7 separate regions of the Homo sapiens genome follow, and all the other regions are linked to region 2. Evidence: promoter capture Hi-C in human tissues and cell types (Jung and others, 2019). All regions are on one chromosome and are shown on one strand. The core of a region is centred on a gene start or on the middle of the fragment in contact, and the rest is flanking DNA. Distances in the headings are between cores, read along the strand shown.

Evidence for each region. Contacts are between HindIII fragments. The study calls those that stand out against the background at their distance.
Region 1: a fragment that was not itself captured here is called in contact with the fragment with the promoter of DENND1A in region 2 in 2 of the 25 tissues and cell types used here (bladder and spleen).
Region 3: a contact is called between a fragment that was not itself captured here and the fragment with the promoter of DENND1A in region 2, in 2 of the 25 tissues and cell types used here (H1 embryonic stem cells and aorta).
Region 4: a fragment that was not itself captured here is called in contact with the fragment with the promoter of DENND1A in region 2 in 1 of the 25 tissues and cell types used here (liver).
Region 5: a fragment that was not itself captured here is called in contact with the fragment with the promoter of DENND1A in region 2 in 7 of the 25 tissues and cell types used here (IMR-90 fibroblasts, aorta, dorsolateral prefrontal cortex and 4 more).
Region 6: a contact is called between a fragment that was not itself captured here and the fragment with the promoter of DENND1A in region 2, in 1 of the 25 tissues and cell types used here (dorsolateral prefrontal cortex).
Region 7: a fragment that was not itself captured here is called in contact with the fragment with the promoter of DENND1A in region 2 in 3 of the 25 tissues and cell types used here (IMR-90 fibroblasts, mesenchymal stem cells and spleen).

What each region holds. Positions count from the first base shown.
Region 1 is chr9:123,517,121-123,519,905 of GRCh38, forward strand. The region is part of intron 13 of DENND1A (DENN domain containing 1A); the gene reads right to left. Among named protein-coding and RNA genes, the nearest start is that of MIR7150, 33 kb to the left of the region's middle. The HindIII fragment of the contact is 4,477 bases long and covers 1-2,785 here.
Region 2 is chr9:123,928,777-123,931,653 of GRCh38, forward strand. It overlaps DENND1A (DENN domain containing 1A), which reads right to left and starts at 1,350. Exons shown (of 24, transcript NM_001352964.2): 1 at 1,113-1,350. The coding sequence starts at 1,129. RefSeq lists enhancers at 207-286, 222-907, 537-736 and a silencer at 1,087-1,576. The HindIII fragment of the contact is 15,721 bases long and covers 1-2,877 here.
Region 3 is chr9:123,617,515-123,620,214 of GRCh38, forward strand. The region is part of intron 10 of DENND1A (DENN domain containing 1A); the gene reads right to left. Among named protein-coding and RNA genes, the nearest start is that of MIR7150, 130 kb to the left of the region's middle. The HindIII fragment of the contact is 5,109 bases long and covers 1-2,700 here.
Region 4 is chr9:123,597,101-123,599,926 of GRCh38, forward strand. The region is part of intron 11 of DENND1A (DENN domain containing 1A); the gene reads right to left. Among named protein-coding and RNA genes, the nearest start is that of MIR7150, 110 kb to the left of the region's middle. The HindIII fragment of the contact is 3,343 bases long and covers 1-2,826 here.
Region 5 is chr9:123,577,674-123,580,521 of GRCh38, forward strand. All of the region lies in intron 12 of DENND1A (DENN domain containing 1A), which reads right to left. It overlaps LOC105376266 (a long non-coding RNA gene), which reads right to left. Exons shown (of 2, transcript XR_930332.3): 1 at 1-2,848. Among named protein-coding and RNA genes, the nearest start is that of MIR7150, 93 kb to the left of the region's middle. The HindIII fragment of the contact is 6,217 bases long and covers 1-2,848 here.
Region 6 is chr9:123,433,525-123,436,343 of GRCh38, forward strand. All of the region lies in intron 19 of DENND1A (DENN domain containing 1A), which reads right to left. Among named protein-coding and RNA genes, the nearest start is that of MIR601, 32 kb to the left of the region's middle. The HindIII fragment of the contact is 6,550 bases long and covers 1-2,819 here.
Region 7 is chr9:123,548,103-123,550,802 of GRCh38, forward strand. All of the region lies in intron 13 of DENND1A (DENN domain containing 1A), which reads right to left. Among named protein-coding and RNA genes, the nearest start is that of MIR7150, 64 kb to the left of the region's middle. The HindIII fragment of the contact is 5,418 bases long and covers 1-2,700 here.

The DNA.
Region 1 (2,785 bases), core at 28-2,527, 410 kb before region 2:
CGGGCACCTGTAGTCCCAGCTACTCGGGAGGCTGAGGCAGGAGAATGGTGTGAACCCGGGATGTGGAGCTTGCAGTGAGCCGAGATCGCACCACTGCACTCCAGCCTGGGCAACAGAGCAAGACTCCGTCTCAGAAAAAAAAAAAACAAAAAACCCACAAAACCCCCCCCAAAAAACCCATTCATATCACAACAACAAAAATTTAAACAGGAAGGGAGGGCCGGGCATGGTGGCTCATGCCTGTAATCCCAGCACTCGGGAGGCCAAGGTGGGTGGATCACTTGAGGCCAGGAGTTTGAGACCAGCCTGGCTAACATGGTGAAATCCTGTCTCTGCTAAAAATACAAAAAATTAGCTGAGCATGGTGGTGCGCCTGAATTCCCAGTTATTTGGGAGGCTGAGACAGGAGAATTGCTTGAACCCAGGAGGGGGAGGTTGCAGTCAGCTGAGACCGTACCACTGCACTCCAGCCTGGGCAACAGAGCAAGACCCTGTCTCAAAAAAACAACAGCAAAACAAAACAAAACAAAACAAACAAAAAAAACAAGAGGGGCACAGTTAAATAAACTGTGGCACAGTGAGGCAAATTCAAGCAGAGGAATTGCGCAACCATTTACAACTGATTATTTACACACAATATCTCATAGTGTGAGGAAAATCCATATAATTGCATGAAAAAGGAAGAAAAATGATATTGACTGAACTCAATTATTTAAAAAGGCATAAAAAACACTTGTAAAGAGAAGTAGCAAAATTGAATGCGGAACGCCTCTGGGTGGTGGAAATGTGAGTGACCTTTCTTTCTCTATGCTTTTCTGTCTTTTCCAAATTTTCTGCATTAAAAATGTTACTTTTATAATCAGAAAAAAATATATATTATTATTTTTTAGGTGTTGTCTCAAGCTGACCCTTTTTTCCTGGCATAAATTTTCATGATTGCTCTTGTTATTACAAGAAGAGAAACTTTCCAAGTGACTGAGTAGCCCTGAGCGGCATTAGGGATTCACCTACACGGGGTAGATTTAAACTGGCACAAAGGACCTTATAAGTAGGAATATTCAAAGGCAATTAGCTGGTAACAATATTATAATAGAAAGGGAGCCAAATAAATGTTTCCTCGACATCATTAATTTAGTTGTAAAATAGACTCAGAGTTACTCTGATAACCCCATATAAAGAAGGCACTCATTATAAAGACAGCCATGTGTTGAACAAGAAAATGTAGATGCAGAGATGGCTTTGCTGTACACAACTAAGATATTCCCACGGAGACAGCAGTTCTCAAAATATCACCCTCAAAAACAAAAGCTTCATCTAGGAAAACAATCCCAGTAAAATGCTAATTGAGTTGGTCCTGCCCACCTACCCCAGAATCCAGCTGTCCTACTCCTCCCTACTCTGGCTCAGCTAAATGCTGTGACCCAGGGCAGGCCACTCCTCAGAACTTTCTTATTTGCAAAGGGGATATAATAATTTATTTTAAAAAATGACTGTCTAGGCATACAGAGAAGACTGGACAAGAGAGCCCATGGGAATGGAGCTAGCACAGTACCTGGCAAGTCCTACTGATCCCATCTCCAAAAAAGCTCTTTCCTCTCCATTTCCACTGACACCACAGTCCATGCCACCCCCACCTGTCTAGGTGGTCTAGGTGATCATCACAGGGACCTTCCAATTGTTCTCTGTGCTTTCATAAAGCCATCCTCTGAGCAGCCAGCAGGACTTTTAACAAATATAAAATTAACTGTGTCACACCCATTTTAAAAAGCCCTACACTGGCCTTCCACTGATTTTGAATAAAACCCAAACTCCTTTCTATGGCCTCTAAAACCTTGCATGACGTGAACCTGCCTAAATCTGTAACTTCAACTCAAGCCACTCACCTTGCTTGCTACATCCTGGGCTCCCCCGTTCCCTTCGGTCCCTCCTAGGGGCCGTGTTGCCTCCCTTCTCTGCCTGGAACATTTTCTCCCCTCCACCCAACACGGATGGCTGATGTCAGCTCCAAGAGGACTTCCCTGATGCACCATCTGAAGGAGAAGCACCAAACTCTGCTCACCTCCTGTACAGCGCGGATGGAACTGTAAATGGTACATCGGTCTGTCTCCTTGTTTACTATTGTATTTCCCTACAGTGTAAGCTCCTTGAAGGAGGGGATCATCTGTCTCCAGTCACTATTGTTGGCTGCCCACCCAGCCCTCATTCCCTCCTCTCTCTAGCCTAACAGAACCCCCAATTTGTTCATGCCTCCCTCCTCCTCCATGAGGCTGACTCTTTCAGATTCCATCCCCAGAGCTGGGCTGGGTCCTCATATCTTTTTAAATTTTTTTTTTTTGAGGCAGAGTCTCACCCTGCTGCCCAGGCTGGAATGTGGTGGCACGATCTTGGTTCACTGCAACCTCCACCTGCCAGGTTCAAGTGATCCTTGCGTCTCAGCCTCCTGAATAACTAGGATTACAGGCTAATTTTTATATTTTTAGTAGAGAAAGGTTTCTGTCATGTTGGCCAGGCCGGTCTTGAACTCTTGGTCTTAAGTGATTTGCCTGCCTGACCTCCCAAAGTGCTTTGATTACAGATGTGAGCCACCACACCTGGCCTGGGTCCTCATATCTAAGTTAACCTGGTGGCCTCACTTCCTTGCCAGTGATGGGCTGGAGCAGAGGCATGGCATGTGACTCAATTCTGGTCAATGGCACTGGAGGAGAAGTCACCAGGAGAGCATCTGGGAAAGCCCTTCTGAATCTTAAGAAATACCCAGGCTGGGCGCGGTGGCTCACACCTGTCA
Region 2 (2,877 bases), core at 100-2,599:
TTAAGGCCCTTCTCCTTTCAAACTTCCCTAGTACAATTCTCAAAATGCTGAAATAAACACATTCCACAAACTTTCTTGTAAGAGGGTTTAAAGTGTCCTAGGAAAGTTGTTTTACAGAAAAGCCTATGCTGTCAACTTTGCTTTTTAATGCCCTTAAACAATTCTATTAGTCACAGAGGAAAAAGTGAACATTTGTTAGTAATTAGAGATAAAACATCTCCAGTTCTGGGGCAGAGGAAGGGAGAGGCCACAAGAGGACCTGGCTGGGAGGGGAGATAGAGTCGAAAGCCACACACCCAAATTGGACCGCTTAAGAGTTGCACTTTCCAAAGTCAACTTCTAAGTCTACAAGGACAGCAACAATGTTTCAGTGGATTCTGAAGTTACATGTATCAACAATTTCCCCGGAAAGCTAACCCTCCACCGGGAACTCCAGGTGAATGAATGAGTGAGGGAATTCGCCAGATTGAGTTACAAAGCCTTTCCAACGATTATCAAGAGCAGGTGCTCGGTTACAACACAGAGGTATCCTCCTTCACAGCCTTTGGACCTTGCTGCGTGGAGATTTTCACAGATAAGAGGGGGGAAATAGAGAGACAGGCCTTCCTCCCCGGCCATCCACACCTTAGGTGGCCACACCATGAGCGGCCCCTCCCTCTAAGAACCTCACGCGACTTCTGTGGGGGCCGCAGGCCTCAAGCGGCCAGGCTGCAACCTCTCCGGACCTGCCAACTTTCAGGGGCGCCCCAAACATGCCCAAACATGGGGAGGTGCTTCCGGGGCTTTCCCACTCCCCTTCCCCACAGTTGAAGGACCATTTTCAGGGGCTCTCCGTAAACCCGGGGAGGGGGCCGCCCTGTAATCTCAGCTGTTCCGACCCCCAGGTGAGGAGGGGACACCTGACCCCCGGCGCCCTGCCACCCCGCGCGCACCCCGCCCCCGCGCCTCCCTGGATCGCCATAGCAACCGTCCCCCTCCCCGCGTGCCGGCGTCACGCGGGGCGCCCCTCTGGTCTCGGCAACAAGTCCCCCGCGCGGCCCGCGGCCTGCAGCCCTGGCCCGGCCTCGCCGCCCCGCGCCCGGCCCGGCTCCGCCCGGCCCGGCCGCACTCACTTGATCCTGGAGCCCATGGTCCCCAGGCCTCCTCATGGGCCCGCGGGCCCCGCTCGGCGCTGCGCTGCCCGCCCGCCCGCGGCCGACCGGCCTCCCTCTGGCGCTCTCCCCGCCCCTTCCTCCCTTCCCTCAGGCTGGGGCCCGCCCGCTCGAGGCTCGCTCCCTCGCCGCCGCCGCCGCCTCCAGGGGTTAATGTACTCGCTCCAGCCCGGCGAACGCCATGGTCGCCGGCGCGCGTGCCCGGCGCGCGCCGCCCCCTCCGCCTCTCACCACCGCCCCTCCCGCCCGCGCTGCCGCCGCCGCTGCCCGCTGGGGCTGCTGGGAAGTGTAGTCCGCTCGCGGGGGCGGGGCCGTGGCCGGTGGGGGCGGGGCGGGAGCGCGGTCACCCGCACGTCTCCCAGGGCGCGGGCCCCGGAGGACTCTGGCGTTCCGTTGCAGGCCCTTACACATCTGCACCCCACTGCGCCCCGCTGGAAACCTCCACTCACAGCCGCCCTGAAGAGACCCTAATCCTCTCATGGAGACCCCAAGCCCTCCCGATGAAACCGCCACCAATCCTCCCATTGGAGGCCTCCCACCCAGCCTCTCTAACGGAGAGCTAATCCCCCGCCCAGGCCTCCATGAAAACACGTTTTCCCTTTAACATCCCGCACCTTCCAGTAAGTTCCGTGCAGAACCTCTTCTCCATCACACCGTCCACTTCCCCATCTGAAGGCCTTTCCTCTTCCTTTCCCCTTAGAGCTTGAAGGAGACCCCACATACCTACAGGAAAGCCACCTGGGGGCTTCGTGGACCCACGTGGTGGCTCAGCTCTGCCCTCCCGCTGAGGACCTCTGCCTCCCTTTATCAGCCGTTTTGGGAACTCCAACATCGAAGCCTCCTGTTAACACAACAGTCCCTGATAGAGATTAACTCAATGCAAATGAAAGGATTTGAGAGCCGAGATCACCAGCCTGCTACCTACCCCTGCTCCCCCTTGGGATTCACTTCCATGAACACCTCAATTTCATCCCCTCTAGGGCCAGAGGGATCATAAAGGAAGCAATAATCACAGCTACCATTAGCCACCCTTTAATGAGCGGGTGAGTGCCCTTTCTGCATCAGACACAGTATTTCCGTACATCATTAGTGCCAATCCTCACAATAATCCTGTGTTCATCTCCCTAATTTACAAAGAGGAAACTGAGCCACATTCCCAAGGTCACATAACTAGCAACGAGTGAAGAAGCCAAGATTAGTGTCCAGACTGAATCATTCCAGACACCTGTGACATAGTCATGCTTTAAGGTGGCACCTTTGGCCACAAGTCCAAAGACATTTTTAATATTAGGCTTTTTTTCCTTTTTTTTTTTTTTTTTCCAATTTTCTGTCCCGAAATGCCATTCATCACTTCTGCCATTTTAGTTCTTATAAATGCATGGAGTGCCTCCCCACCCTACCCCCACCCCATAGCCTCTACGTAACTGGTCCTGCGTCCTAGCTCCCGGCCAGGATGGGAGGAAAGAAAGCCAGAAGATAAGTCGTAGAAGACTTCTTCTGTTGGAGTCACCTTCTGAATAAAGATAGTTTCTCCCTTTTGCCTCTGCCTTTAGGTTGTTGAAGTCAAAGGGTAAACTTTTTAAAATGAAAACCAAAAAAAAAGTGAAAATGTCCAAACTGTCATTTTGAATTTAAAGTCTTATGCACCCAGACACCAATACCGACTTGTAAACACCCCCAGGAGCAAAGCTCTGCTAGACAGGCAGGAGCTCTGTGGTGTTTATTC
Region 3 (2,700 bases), core at 130-2,629, 310 kb before region 2:
GCCCCAAGCCACTGGACCCAACAGAAATGAACACATGAGTTACAAAGATAACACCTGGACAAAATTCTGGAGAGGTCAACATCAAAGCCTGGGGTAGCCCGCCCTTTTGAGCCTCCTTGGCCTACCGGAAGGCGACAGACTCGGAAAACATCAGGAAGGGCTCCGTGGCTAAGACCACTGCGGCAGGAGAAGTTAATCACAGAGCAAAGGTCAGGAGACAGGGCTCTCTGCTGCCACAGAGAATTCAATGAGAACCGTAATAGCTAAAGCCAGACACGGAAAGGAAGTCTCAAGTTGTGAGCCACAAGCAGCCCATGAGAGCCTGTGGAAACACATGAATGAATGAGCCACAAAATAAATAAGAGAAAAAGAGAAAGAGGCTTATGGAGAAATAAATGAAGAGAAAGTAACAGAAAAAAAGGATAAAAAAATAGCGCAACTGATAATAAAAGGAGATTTTCTCTTGCTGTTTTTCCAGGACTCATCCCATGTGCCAAGATGCATAGCATCCAATTACCTTTGCAGCCTCGCCTTTCCATTCATCACGTTTTAAAGGGAAGACGAACCCGCACTTGCTGAGAGGTCACTCAGAGCCTATCACTATGCTGGTGCTGCACATACTGTCCCTGGTGCCAGCACCTGAAAAAGGCAGGCACACTATCTCCAGAAGCCCTGCCATGAGGTCACTTGCTGCACTGCTGAAACTTCCTGTGACCCTGATGTTACTTGGTCTGTGGCCTCTGCCTTATGGGTGAACTATGGCTCCCAGGAACATATCTAGAGTGTCGTTGCTATAGAGCCCCCTATACTGTGCCCCAGAATGTCCAGAGTTTTCTAAGTGTTGGGTTCAAGCCAGGCTCCAAATCAGGGAGGAATGAGGAATGTGTCACTCACGTACAGAATGTGTCATGAGAAATGGAAAACCAGGCCAATGCTCAGGCAGGTAGGCAGGAGTCGGGGCCAGCAACGTTGCATGGAGGCCAGCAGAAACTAGGGCAGGGGAGGCGGGCTGTTGCCCCTCCCGACATTAGGCAGAAGGAGGGGGCTGGGGAAGGTGGGAGCGGCAGGGCAGGTCCAGAGGCTCAGAGGCAGATACAGTAGCCAGGAGGTGGTTAGGCTGTGGTCCAGACAGCTCCCCAAAGGGTGGGTGGCTGAGCCAACAAGCACCATTCCCCTATGTGGGAAGGTCACTCCTGTGTTAAAGGGACACCTTGTCTTCTTTAACCCTGAAAGTCTCAGTAACGCTGGGAGTGACACTGCTGAGGCCAGTGAGAGCTGTCCCGCTATACTCCTGACATCGGTGCCTTCCGGGGTGCCTCTAGAGGGACAGGGCTAAAGGCTGAATGGCAACCATCTACACAGACTAACCCATTTTTATAGACCTTTCGCTTTTTGCTATATGTACTTTAAAAGGCTAAAAAAGTTTTTTATTTCTTCTTATTATTATTTTTGAGACAGAGTCTCGTTCTGTCACCCAGGCTGGAGTGCAGTGACGCGATCTCAGCTCACTGCAACCTCCACCTCTCAGGTTCAAGTGATTCTCCTGCCTCAGCCTCAGAGTAGCTGGGATTACAGGCACACGCCACCACGCCCAGCTAATTTTTGCATTTTTAGTAGAGACGGGGTCTCACCATGTTAGCCAAGCTGGTCTTGAACTCCTGATCTCAGGTGATCCACCCACCTGGGCCTCCCAAAGCGCTGGGATTACAGGCATGAGCCACCGCACCCAGCCTAAAAAAGTTTTTTATAATAAGAATGTATTACTTTACTAACAATATAGACTGTATTAAAAATCTAATGTGTCTGGAATTAGTGGTGGTGATATATCTATTAGATGGATAGTGGATTAGATAGTTGGAATAGACTACAAACCACTGATCTGTATACATACATTGATTGACTGATTGATTGATTGATTGATTGAGACAGAGTCTCACTCTCCTTGACCAGGTTGGAGTGCAATGGCGTGATCACAGCTCGTTGCAGCCTCAACTCTCCACGTTCAGGTGATTCTTCTACTTCAGCCTCACAGAGAGCTGGGACTACGGGTACACACCATCACACCTGGCTAATTTTTGTATTTGTTTTACAGGGACATGATTTTGCCATGTTGCCCAGGATTGGTCTCGAACTCCTAGGCTCAAGCAATCTGCCCACCTCCCAAAGTGCTGGCATTACAGGTGTGAGCCACTGCAGTTCGGGCCAGAACTGTATACTTTTAAAAGGGTGAATTTTGTGGTATGTGGATTAAATTTCAACTTAAAAAATGTAGCAGAGAAATTGAAAAGACAGTTTTCCTATAGAGTCTTCAGTATAGAGATCAGCACAGAATCTGTAACATAGATAATACAAAGGGCCCAGTCTCTTCTTTACCTAATTTTTCCACCTGGAAAACAGTTCACATTGAAATTGTCCAGTCTGGGCATGGTGGCTTACACCTGTAATCACAGCACTTTGGGAGGCCAAGGTGGGCGGATCATTTGAGGTCAGGAGTTTGAGACCAGCCTGACCAACATAGTGAAACCCCTTCTCTACTAAAAATACAAAAAATTAGCTGGGTGTGGTGGCGCATATCTGTAATCTCAGCTACTTGGGAGGCTGAGGCAGAAGAATTGCTTGAACCCAGGAGGCGAAGGTTGCAGTGAGCTGAGATCGCACCACTGCACTCCAGCCTGGGTGAGAGAGTAAGACTCCATCTCA
Region 4 (2,826 bases), core at 290-2,789, 330 kb before region 2:
CCACACAACTGCCACTTGCCATCATTCATTCATCACTAAGCACTGCAAAGCCCGACTCCCATCTCCACCTGCCTTTTATTTGAAATGTCAATTTTTAAAGAGTGGAGAGGTTGGAAACCCAATTTAACAAGCACGCTGAAACATTGTTTATTGCCCCCATAAACATGGCTTAGTGAGAATTACGGACTTAATCAGAGTGAACTTATCTTGCGGTGAAAAGGAACACTTTAAATTTCAGAAATGGCACCTTCACTGTGAAAATCTCTTAACTTTTCAAACAAACTACAGGGGGTCTTAAACATATGGGCAGTAAAGGGGCAGCTATTACTTTGATTTGTCCTACCCACGAGCCTAGGAGCCCTCACAGTCCTTAACAACTTTAAGATCTAGGAAAAATACTTGGAAAATCATATTCAGGAGACATGTCTCTAAAAGCACCCAAAAGGTCTGCAGAGTGAGAAGTGAGACCTGTATAGCTGCTCTTGGGGTTATTCAAAAGGATGGGCCCTAGGGTCATTAGAACAGGGGCTATTTAATAAGCAGCAGCAGTGAGAAAGTGCACCCCTCCTCCTAAGATTAAACATTTAGCAATAGGTAATATTTTGCTGACCTGCTTTTCAGAAGAGAGGTGCTACACAAATCTAAAAGGCTGCTAAATGGTTTGTGTGGGTCTTCTTTATTTATAAACCCCCTCCCTCCTGCTGAGGATGACGTCCTATGAACCCCAACTTCCCAATCTGAGGCTTCATTAATGCTACTCAGATCATTCCAGGGAAGGTTTTCATAAAGACGACCCCATCTTGCAGACAACGTATCAGCCTGGCTGCCAGAGGCAGGAAAGGCAATAGATATAAAATTTTATTATTTCAATGCCCCAGTAGCAGCCAGGAGGACTTAATGAAATCGCCAAGATTTACAATCTGAAATAGCTATTGCACAGACAGATACAGTTAAGGGAGCTGAGCCCTCTGACCTTTCAACCCTTTGATCTTCACTCGGCAGGTGGCCTGGAGCCCCCTCCTGGGCATCTTCCCTCTCTTCTGACACTGCCAAACCTTGATGTGCAATAAGCCTGACCCTACACAGGTGACTCTCCCGGTGCTTATCACCAGCAGCTGCTGCTAATGGCACGGCCAAAATCACTCCGAGGCAGGGAAGGGGAATATACTGTGCAGTGTCCAAATGGTGCTGAAACAAGGCTCAATAACTCAGCCCCAAGTCCAGTTGTGCAGCAGTGCATAATGATGTCATTACCCAAAAGTGTCCTTAGAAAATGGAACTCTGATCTCCCCTGATTTACACTTTGAGGTTGGGGGAGGGGGGAAAATCACCTTTTAAAACTCAATCACAAATCTCAAAAAAAAAAAAAAAAAAAAACCAACCCCAAAGTCCCAAATGCATCTCTCAGAACTTCCCCAAAACCATGTGCAGCAAATTTATACCAGCGAAAATCTAAACAATTTTTGGAAACCTAAAATTGACTGTTTTCAGTTCCATGAAATTTCATTTAAAAAACCCCATATGCCAAAATGTCCAAATTCTCTTATTTTTAAAAATTGGGATGACATCCAAAAATCATAGCTATCTTTTTCTTTCTTTTTTTTCCCCCTTCTTCTAAAGCTAGGGATGGGTAGTGTGCATATGTACTTATCAAGCTTCATAATTTAACCCATTCGGTCAGTACAAAATATTTGCAGTTAAATGCTGAAGAGGGAGGATATAAATTTATTACCACTGGATCTTTGGAAACAACGGACTCCTAGGCACCAAGGTTTAGCAGACATTATATTTGGCTAAGGAAGTGTCCAGGAGTCTAGGCACAGCTCCAATCTGCACCTTTTAGCTTTTGTCAATATTTGGGTTTATGGAGGGAAGGATTTTAGGCAAGACACATAAACCACTCTCAGGGATGTTGATAACTTCCAACCACAAAACAAAACTTCAGTGCCACTGTTCATCATACTTCAGAAAAGCCCCCAGTCAATGCCTTTGTTTCTAAACAAACATAGAATGGTGGTCCCAAGCTTTACCTGCAAAGGCCTGAACTTAGATCATAAATGTTTGAATCCAATAGCCAAAGAAAAAACCTACTTCTTTTGTAGCCTAAACGGCATATCTCTTAAGTGTCCAACTTTAATTTCATCTTGAAATCAGCTGAGAATCAAACAATATGTAAAGAGAGATCTATAGACTCCATTTTTAAACACACTTTTCTCTCTGGATGTTTAACTTTAGTACAGAGAGTAGTGTGTGGAGAAATTAGTTTAGCAGGGGGGAAAAAAGGCATGGTTACTACATCACAGTTTGACCTCTTTGTACAAAACGACTGTTGAGCTATCTTCTAGAGATGCCTATTGGAAATATTTTATTCATAATAATAGCTACCAGAGGGTGATGGCCTAGTAATGTTCATGGCACTTCGGTCATATTATTTCTAATTGTCATCACTTTATGGCAGGTGTCCTCATTTTGCTGATGGGGATATTAAGGCACACACCCACAGAAGCTCAGCGACTTGCCCAAATTACAGATAGATAAATGGCAGAGCTGGGATTCAAACTCAGGTTCACTGACTGCTCAAAAAGCCCATGGTCCAGCCACATTTTCCCCAACAAAAGCAAAACACGAACAAACAGAACAAGAACATGCATTAATTTGTGCAGAAAATGCCGGATTTCGGCTTGCTTACACATTGCCCTGGCCCATTTAACGGCCTTCCAAATCAATTATTTTAGGTCATTAAGAGGAAGTTTAATTTGGTTGACAAACACCCCTACTGTGGTGACCTCACATATCAACAACAAATGCCTGATGGTCACAAACCCA
Region 5 (2,848 bases), core at 50-2,549, 350 kb before region 2:
AGAAATAGGTTTGTTTAAAACTTTTCATCGAAGTTTAACATACACACATAAAAATGCACACACCATTGGTGCTCAGCTTGACGAATTCACCCCCATGTAACTGGCACTCAGATTAAAATCCAGCACATTTTAGGACCCCTAAAGCCCTCTCTTGTGCCTCTCAAAGCTTAATTTTAAGCTCTTTCAGGGCAGGGCTAAAATGATCTTTATAGCTAATTTAGATGTACTATCAAGTCATGCCCTACTGGTGTCTCTTATCATTGTCCTGAATGACCAACAAGATCTCTGACTCTGGTTGGTCAGAACCTGCAGGATTCCTAGACTTGTGTGAGCTCTGAGAACTGTTCATCTTATAGTTTCCTGTCAGGAGTTTTACCCTACATATGGGCAGATTAGTCTTCAGCAGGTTTGTCAATTCAGGTTTCTGGAGCTCTTCAGCTGAGTAGCTCCCTCCTGTCTGATACTCTCACTTGCAAATGTAAACCATCTCCCCTTCAAACTGTTCTTTAATCTTTCAGCTCCCCAAGACTGTTGTGCTTTGCTGGGGATTCCCCTTCTAGTACCAATATCCAGAAAATGCCTCAAGGCAGAAAGCCAGTGGGATAGTAGGCCTCACCTCACTGGCTTCCTTTCACTCAGGGATAACAATCTTGTCTTGTCTGTTGTCCAACATGTGAAAACAGCTGTTTTCATATTTGTCCAGAGTTTTAAATTGTGGGAGGATTAATCCAGTTCCAATTATTCTATCATGGCTGGAGAGCAGTGGCGCAATCACAGCTCACTGCAAACTTGAATTCTTGGCCTCAAGCAATTCTTCTGCCTCAGACTCCCAAAATGCTGGGATTATAGGCATGAGCCACCATGTCTGGCCCCAAGCCTCTTTTAATAAAGTTTCCAGCGTAGATGCCATGTTTTACAAGATTTCATCTACCATAATAACCCAATCCATATGTGCCTTCCATCCTTCCATCTATCTATTCAGTGGCTGCTAGATTCTTGGAAAACAAAGATGAATAAAACTCAATTACTGCTACTCCAAAAAACTGACAAGTAAAAGGGAAATGGGCAATAAATCAGTACAATTACACAAGGTACACAAGGGGCTGTGGGGACATAGAGAAAGATATGGTCAAATCTACGTGAAGGTCAGAAAAGATTCAGTGTGTGTTTGTGTGTGTGTGTGTGCATGTGTTTGTGTGTGTGTGTGATTAAATACTTGAGAGCAGGTCTTGAAGAATGAGTGAGAGATTAATAGATGAGGTAAGACACTGGGACAAAAGAAATGCTGCATACAAAGTATGAAGTTATGAAACAACATGTAAATTTGGGACAACCATTAACAGTTCTAAAAACCTACAGTACAGAGTTTAAAGCAGGGAGGAGAGAGAACTACAGCTATGGAGAAACAAAAACAGGGGGGTATCATGAAGGAGGGCTGAATGCCCTGCGGATCATAATTCACATCCATAATTCATCATCATCAGCTACTGTCGATTGTGCTGATAGGATATATGTTTTAAATATATTATATATATTACATTTAATTCTCAAACAACCTTATGTGGAAATTAAGTCTTAGAGAGCTTAAGTAATTTTGCCCAAGATCACACGGACATGAAGTGAGGAAGCCAGGATGTGAAAACAGGTCTGTTTGATTTCAAAGCCAACAAAGGGAAGTTGCCTTGAATCTCTAGGTAATGGGAAGTTATAGGAGAATTTTTTTGTCCTTAAATGTTTTTTTGAAAAATTACATTCACTGATGGAATAGTTTTAGTTAGGTGGGAAATGGAGTTTATGTTTTTAGAAAGGTCACTCTGGGGCATGAGGCGGAAAGATTGGAGGGATGAGGCTGGAGTCAGATGAGCCAGTCTTGAGTCTGCTGGTAATAATGCAGGGGGAAAATAAAAGCTTAGATTAGGTGGTGTTTAGGAGGGATGAGGAAGAGGATGTGGATTTACCAAATGTTTAAGAAGCAGAATCTGTCAGAGTAAACACACAACTTTGGCCAAAGGGGAGATTTTAAGGTCAACGATGGATAGGCTGATACACTAAAATTACCAGGTCCTATGCCAAATGCAGGGGACACAAAGACAGGCAGGGCACGATTTCTCCTCTTGATAGCTCATGTAGCATCACAGAATCAAAGCTGTGAATTCCATTGAAATACAATAAATACCTTACAGACCACATCTCCCCCCATTACAATCTTCAGAATCCTTAATGAGTATAGAGGCCCAAGCTGGAAACCACTGCTGTAGAACATTCTCAACCCTGTTACAAACCAGCTTGCATATAGGAGGTCCCATTTGTGCACGCTGAGACTGTCAGGACATAGAGGTTATTAACTGTCCTCCAATCTTGCCTATAATTATCAGCAACAATTTTATTAAAAACAAATGCAGGTACCATTTCTTGAATGCTGACAACATGCAAGCACTGTGCCAAGCATTTGATAATCATTACCATAGCTGTTTGCCATAATAATCCTCAGAGCAAGCCTGGTACTCCTCTTTTAATGTGGAAAACTGAGGCTCAAAGAGGGAAAATAACTCACCCAAGTTACTTTGGTTCCCTGAGGCTACCTCATTTTGTCATTTAAAAGGCATCTTGGAATTTGCCATCTTCAGAAAGACTCCATTATCCTCCCCAAAATTTTGTTACTCTCTCTCCTGGGCCCTTCTGTGCCCGACTCCTATTTCCCTGTGGTCTCTATTATGCTATACTGTAATAGATATGTAATTGACATATCTGTTTCCTTTACTGACATACAATCTTTGAAGATCTGCTTTCTCTTTGCTGCTCAGTGCCAGCACAGGGTCAGAGCAGTGCAGGTGGGACCAGTCAGTCC
Region 6 (2,819 bases), core at 229-2,728, 500 kb before region 2:
TGCCTCTCCTAGGAATAAAGATAAACCCCTACAAAACTATCATATTAACATTAATCCCACATCATCATCTAACATTCCAGTCCATCTTCAAATTTTCCAACTTTCCCAAGAATGTCTTTAAAGCTTTTTTCTTTTTTCTTTTTTTTAAAAAAACAACAACACATAATCCAAGTTAGGTTCACACTTTGCACTTGGTCATGTATCCTAGTCTCTTTCACAGATAAAACCTTTACGCCTAATTTATCCTGTTGCTTGCTTCGCTTGATGTGACTCAAGGGATGATGGGCCCCTCCCTTCCCCTGACTGCTTTCCCCACTGTGCTGCTCCTGCACAGCTCTGCCCATCCTTGGGCACAGGAGAAGGGGGGTCCCAGTTCCCTGCCTCATTCCTCTCCATTCCCTTCCGGGGACACCTATGACTGACCTTAGGAACTAGGAAAAACACACAAAATAAAATGAGACGGGATCTAAATTGCTATAACACAAAGCTGTTTCTATTTGGAAACAAAATCCTTTTTTTTGAGATGGAGTCTCACTCTGTCACCCAGGCTGGCGTGCGGTGGCACAATCTCGGCTCACTGCAACCTCTGCCTCCCGGGTTCAAGCAATTCTCCTGCCTCAGCCTCCTGAGAAGCTGGGACTACAGGCGCATGCCATCATGCCTGGCTAATTTTTGTATTTTTAGTAGAGACAGGGTTTCACCATGTTGGCCAGGCTGGTCTTGAACTCCTGACCTCAGGTGATCCACCTGCCTTGGCCTCCCACAGTGCTGGGATTACAGGCGTGAGCCACCATGCCCGGCCTCACTTCAAAATCCTTCTTTATGGAAAGTGAATTTGGAAATAGTTTGTGACCACTAAGGGAATGTTCATTTTTCTTCTTCAAATGAATTAGAATTACAAGCATAGCAACAGAAATGAAACCAAATAACTTGCTGAATGCACAGCAAGTGCTTCAACAACAATCAATTATTCCTTAATTTAAACATCCACACCAATAATAAAACCCCAGGATGTGCACTGACTGCCAGCTCAGTGCCAGGCCCTGCAGTGGACTTTCTGGTGGGAAGGCAAGCATTAAAGAAAAATTGCAGGGCTGCGTGACAAGCGGCGTGTGCATAGTCCTGGGGTAGCACGAGGACAGAAGCAACTCACTCTTCCTAGGGGAGTTGGGAGAATTTACCAGGAGGCCTGCTCTGGGATTGGACAGGCAGGTCACAAAGGGGCCAAGGAGGAAGATGGAGTCTTTAGGAGAGGCTGGGAGCGGGGGTGAGGCGGCCACTAGTGCATGCTTACAGTAAGTGCATGCTTACAGTGGACCCGGCTTACAGTGGACCCGGCAAGGCCACATGGGGACTACAGGGAGTACCAGTTAGGAGCCTGTGAAACAGTCCAGGTGAATGATTATGCTGCCTGCACCACAGCTGTGGCAAAGGTGATGGAGAGGAGAGGATGAAGTAGTGTTCAGGGGTGGAAGGAGAGGATCTGGGGAGAAGGAGGGCGGAGCCTGGCTCTGGATGGCCAGCCTGTGTCATTCACTGGGGTGGAAGATGGAGGAGTGAGTTTGGTGGGGAGTGTATGTTCAGACCAGAGGCCTGGGGTGTGCAGTATCCTGAGAACATGGGAGCACCTGCTGGAGGTGGTGAGGAGGCAATGGCTGAAGTGAAGGGAATTGCATGTGGCTTCCAAGCTCAGTGGGGCAAGAGGACTCTCTCAGGGCACTCAGAGCCAAGGGTGCTGAGAAGGCATTTGCTAGCTCGGCATCTTCTCCAGCCTAGCATGGGATTGGCACTAAATGACCTGGCTGATGACCCTGATGCCAGAATTCTCCATACGCAGAGACAAGCCGGCAACCACATCCCAAGAGCTGTTCCTGGGGCTGCTATCCAGACCTCCCTGCCACAGTTCTCTGGAAGCCACGGTGGTGCTTGGTTTTGGTTTTGGTTTAACCAGCTTTTCAAACTTTACATTAAAGAGGTTTAGAAACCTTTGTTCAGATGGGAGAAGAACAGAGGCAGCACCTTTCAATACATGCTTTTTGCAATCTATCAGATTGGAAGGCAGGCAACTACTTTGTTTGCAGATCAGTCATTTGGAGGAAATACAAAGAAGGGGGCCCTGGAAGGGGTTTGCTGTGATATTCTCAGGGAAGCCTCAGTCTCTAGCCTTGGCTATCTGCACCTAGGACTAGGGTCCAGTGTCACTGAACTCACACAATCAGGCCATTCTCCTGGCAAGGAGGGAGAGCTGCACACAGCCAAGAGAAGCAGAGGTGCTGCTGCTGCTGGATTTGGAGTAGGAATTAGCTACTCATTCCAGCAACGCCGTTCCAGTGTGCCTCCTCATGTGTACGATGGGTAAAATGATTTCTTCCTCACCCGCTGATGGCAAAGTCTCAAGTCAGTGCTCACGGATGTGAAAGCATCTATGGCTCACCCATCTTATTAAATGTAGGGAGCAGAGCAGTTTCCACAGGGGTCCTCGGGAGGGAAGCCAGTCAAGGCCAGCCATTCTAACCAAGGGGTGCCCAGGGCTGCCGGGGAGGACACCACTCACTCACTCCTTCTATAGCTGTGGGAAGGAGGAGCTTCCATTTCCTACCCTAGGAGAGAAAACCAGGGGGGAATCCTTGGCTTGGCCAGGCACCCTCTTGTTCAACCCCTCCCAGAGGAAGAGGAAGAATGCCTTCCCGGGGAGTCTGGGAGAAGGAACTGAGCTCCATCACCCCTTCCAGCTCCCTCCTGGGGAGCAGCCAGGGCAACGCCCTCCCGCAGCTCCTCCTTGCTAGGAGTCTATGGGCAGCTCCAACCTGGAGAGACCT
Region 7 (2,700 bases), core at 26-2,525, 380 kb before region 2:
ATACTCCTTCCATCACATTCGGTGGCCTCCTTAGCCACTTAGAGCCACAGAGCTATAGTGATGGTCCCTGAAGTCCTGGGGCAGAAGCACCTCCCCTTATCCTTGCTTCATTCCCAGGACATGATCTTGACTTCAGATGACCACTAAAATGGGAAAAAATGTTAATTAGCAAGTTACCAGCCCCTTCTGCAGTCCCCTTTACACTCCCCCATCAATGAATCTGCTTAGCTCCGGCCTGTAGGTTTTGGCTATAATTCCTTATCCACTTGCCTAAAATATACCGGAAAATAAAACAAATGTTTCATGAACTTTTCCTACAGATATTCTTGGGTCCATATTCGTGCTTCCCACAGACACTGCTACCCACTTAACAAAAGCACGGACTCTGTGAAAAACATTTTGGAGGTTCCTCAAAAAGTTAAACGTAGAATTACCAGATGACCCACAACTGCGCTTTTAGGTATATAGCCAAATGACTTGCAAGCAGGTGTTCAACTATTAATTATACACACACATTCACAGCAGCACTACTCATAACAGCCAAAACATAGAAACAACCCAGGTGTCCATTAACAAGTGAGTGGATAAACAAAATATGGTATATACAGATAGTGGAATATTATTCAGTCTTAAAGAGGGCTGAAGTTCTGATGCATGCTATAACACGGATGAACCTGGTGAACATGATGCTACCAAAATAAGCCAGGCAAAGGGACAAATATTGAATGATTCCGCTTCTATGAACTATCTAGAATAGGCAAATTCATAGAGACAGAAAGTAGACTAGAGGTTACTAAGGGCTGGGGGAAAGGGAAATGAGAAGTTCTTGCTCACTGGATACAGAGGTTCTGTTGGGAGTGATGAAAAATGTTGCAAATAGACAGTAGTGATGGTTGCACATTGTGAATGCCATTCATGCCAATGAACTGTATACTTAACAATGGTTAAAATAGCACATCTTATGTTATATGTATTTTTTACATTTTTTTTCCTTAAAGCATGGGCTCTTTAGACAGACCTGGGTGTGATGGGGTGAGTCCCAGCTCCACCACTCCCAACCTGTGTGGAGGGTCACAGAGCCTCACACAGACACACAGCTGCACACACACATCAGTCCCTTCCAGGCGTCATGCAGTTTCCTCTTTCTCCCGGTTTCCTTGCTTCCTTATCTCTCATCTTGCTGTACTGTACATAGTGTCTTAAGGTTCCTCAAACCTATTTTCAGCACAAGATGGGGGCACAGACAAATTAGTCACATCCCTTATGTGTGTTCTGGGAATCCTCTGCTTGTCTGTGTGGAGGGCAGGGAGTGCGCACCCTCCCACCCATCAAGGGTTCTTGATTCTTTTTCCATCTTGAGCCACCGCGAGGCTGAGTCAACCGAAATCTGCTTTCTTGCGATGCTGTGACAAGTTGGCCCCCACAGTCAGGCTCCTGCTCACAGACTCAGTTCTTCCACTCAGAAGGCTTTGAAATACAGCATTTCAAAGCTTTATTCACAAAGATGTTTAGTGGAGTATTACTTATAATATCAAAAGACTGGAAATAACCTAAATGTCCAACAAGGGAGGGTGGTTATGGAAATTATGGTAGTTATACTTGATGGAATATTCTGCAGTTATGTAAAAATGCATATGAAATCTTGTTAAATGGGGGCGGGGAACTAACTTTTAACTGAGATTTGCTTGTACCTATGTAAACCCTTTGCATAATGAAAAAATAAAGAGTAAATACAAAAGGCATATGTAGTAAAAATCAGTGGGACTATGGTGCTGTTTTGATTTTACTACTTTAAAAATATTTTTCTGCTTTCCACTACACCAAAAACAAATCCGAAAACAGTTTTTATTGTTTTTTCATAAACAACTTGAGATCAACAGGGTTACTCAATCAGGACACAGATATATGTGGTGTTTTTCCAACCTGCTCCAACACAACCTCGTGCATTCATCCTTGAAAGCCAGGCTATCAATCTGCTTTTATCTCAACTTCTGCGTCCTCCAGGGGTTTTAGGTGGATAAATATGACTCAGCAGAATCACATGCAAAATCATGGGCTATAAGGTGGATGATACCAGTGTACCCACAGCTGAATCTGGAAGCTGGCCTCTTGGGATGAACTAAGCAAGTGGGACCAGAGTGAGCTGGCTGCTGCCTGTTTAAACAGTTTGCTTACTGCCCCCACCCAGCATTCGCTCCCTGTGGGCAGTAGCTCTGTTCCCTTTATCTTAGGGAAGCCCAGCTAGCAGGTTGGCCCAGAGAGGGCCACACAAGCTAGCTGAATAAACAGCTCCCATAGTGCTCCATCTACACTGGCCTTTCCACAGACACTGGCACAGAAGAGGACGCGTCTTCAAACACCAATACCCATGGGTTTTGCTCTTTAACCTAACATATACCAAGGACCTGCGGTGGGCCAGACATGGGGAGAGGAACCCTCACATGCACCGTCATGCAGCATGGGTTATGAAATAAGAAACTCTAAGCAGAAAAGGGGATGAATTGAAAGCACACAAATCTATCTGCAAAAGTTCTTTAAAACTGAGACCAGCGTGTGTGAAATGTGTTTCGAGGGGGGTGTATTAGCCTTATTCAGATTTCATGATGATATAATTTTAAACAAAGGAGTGAGGTAAAAGATTGTTTAAAAAATTCTTTCGTTCTCTCTAGGAAGGAGGAATATTCAAGGCAAATTTTAGAA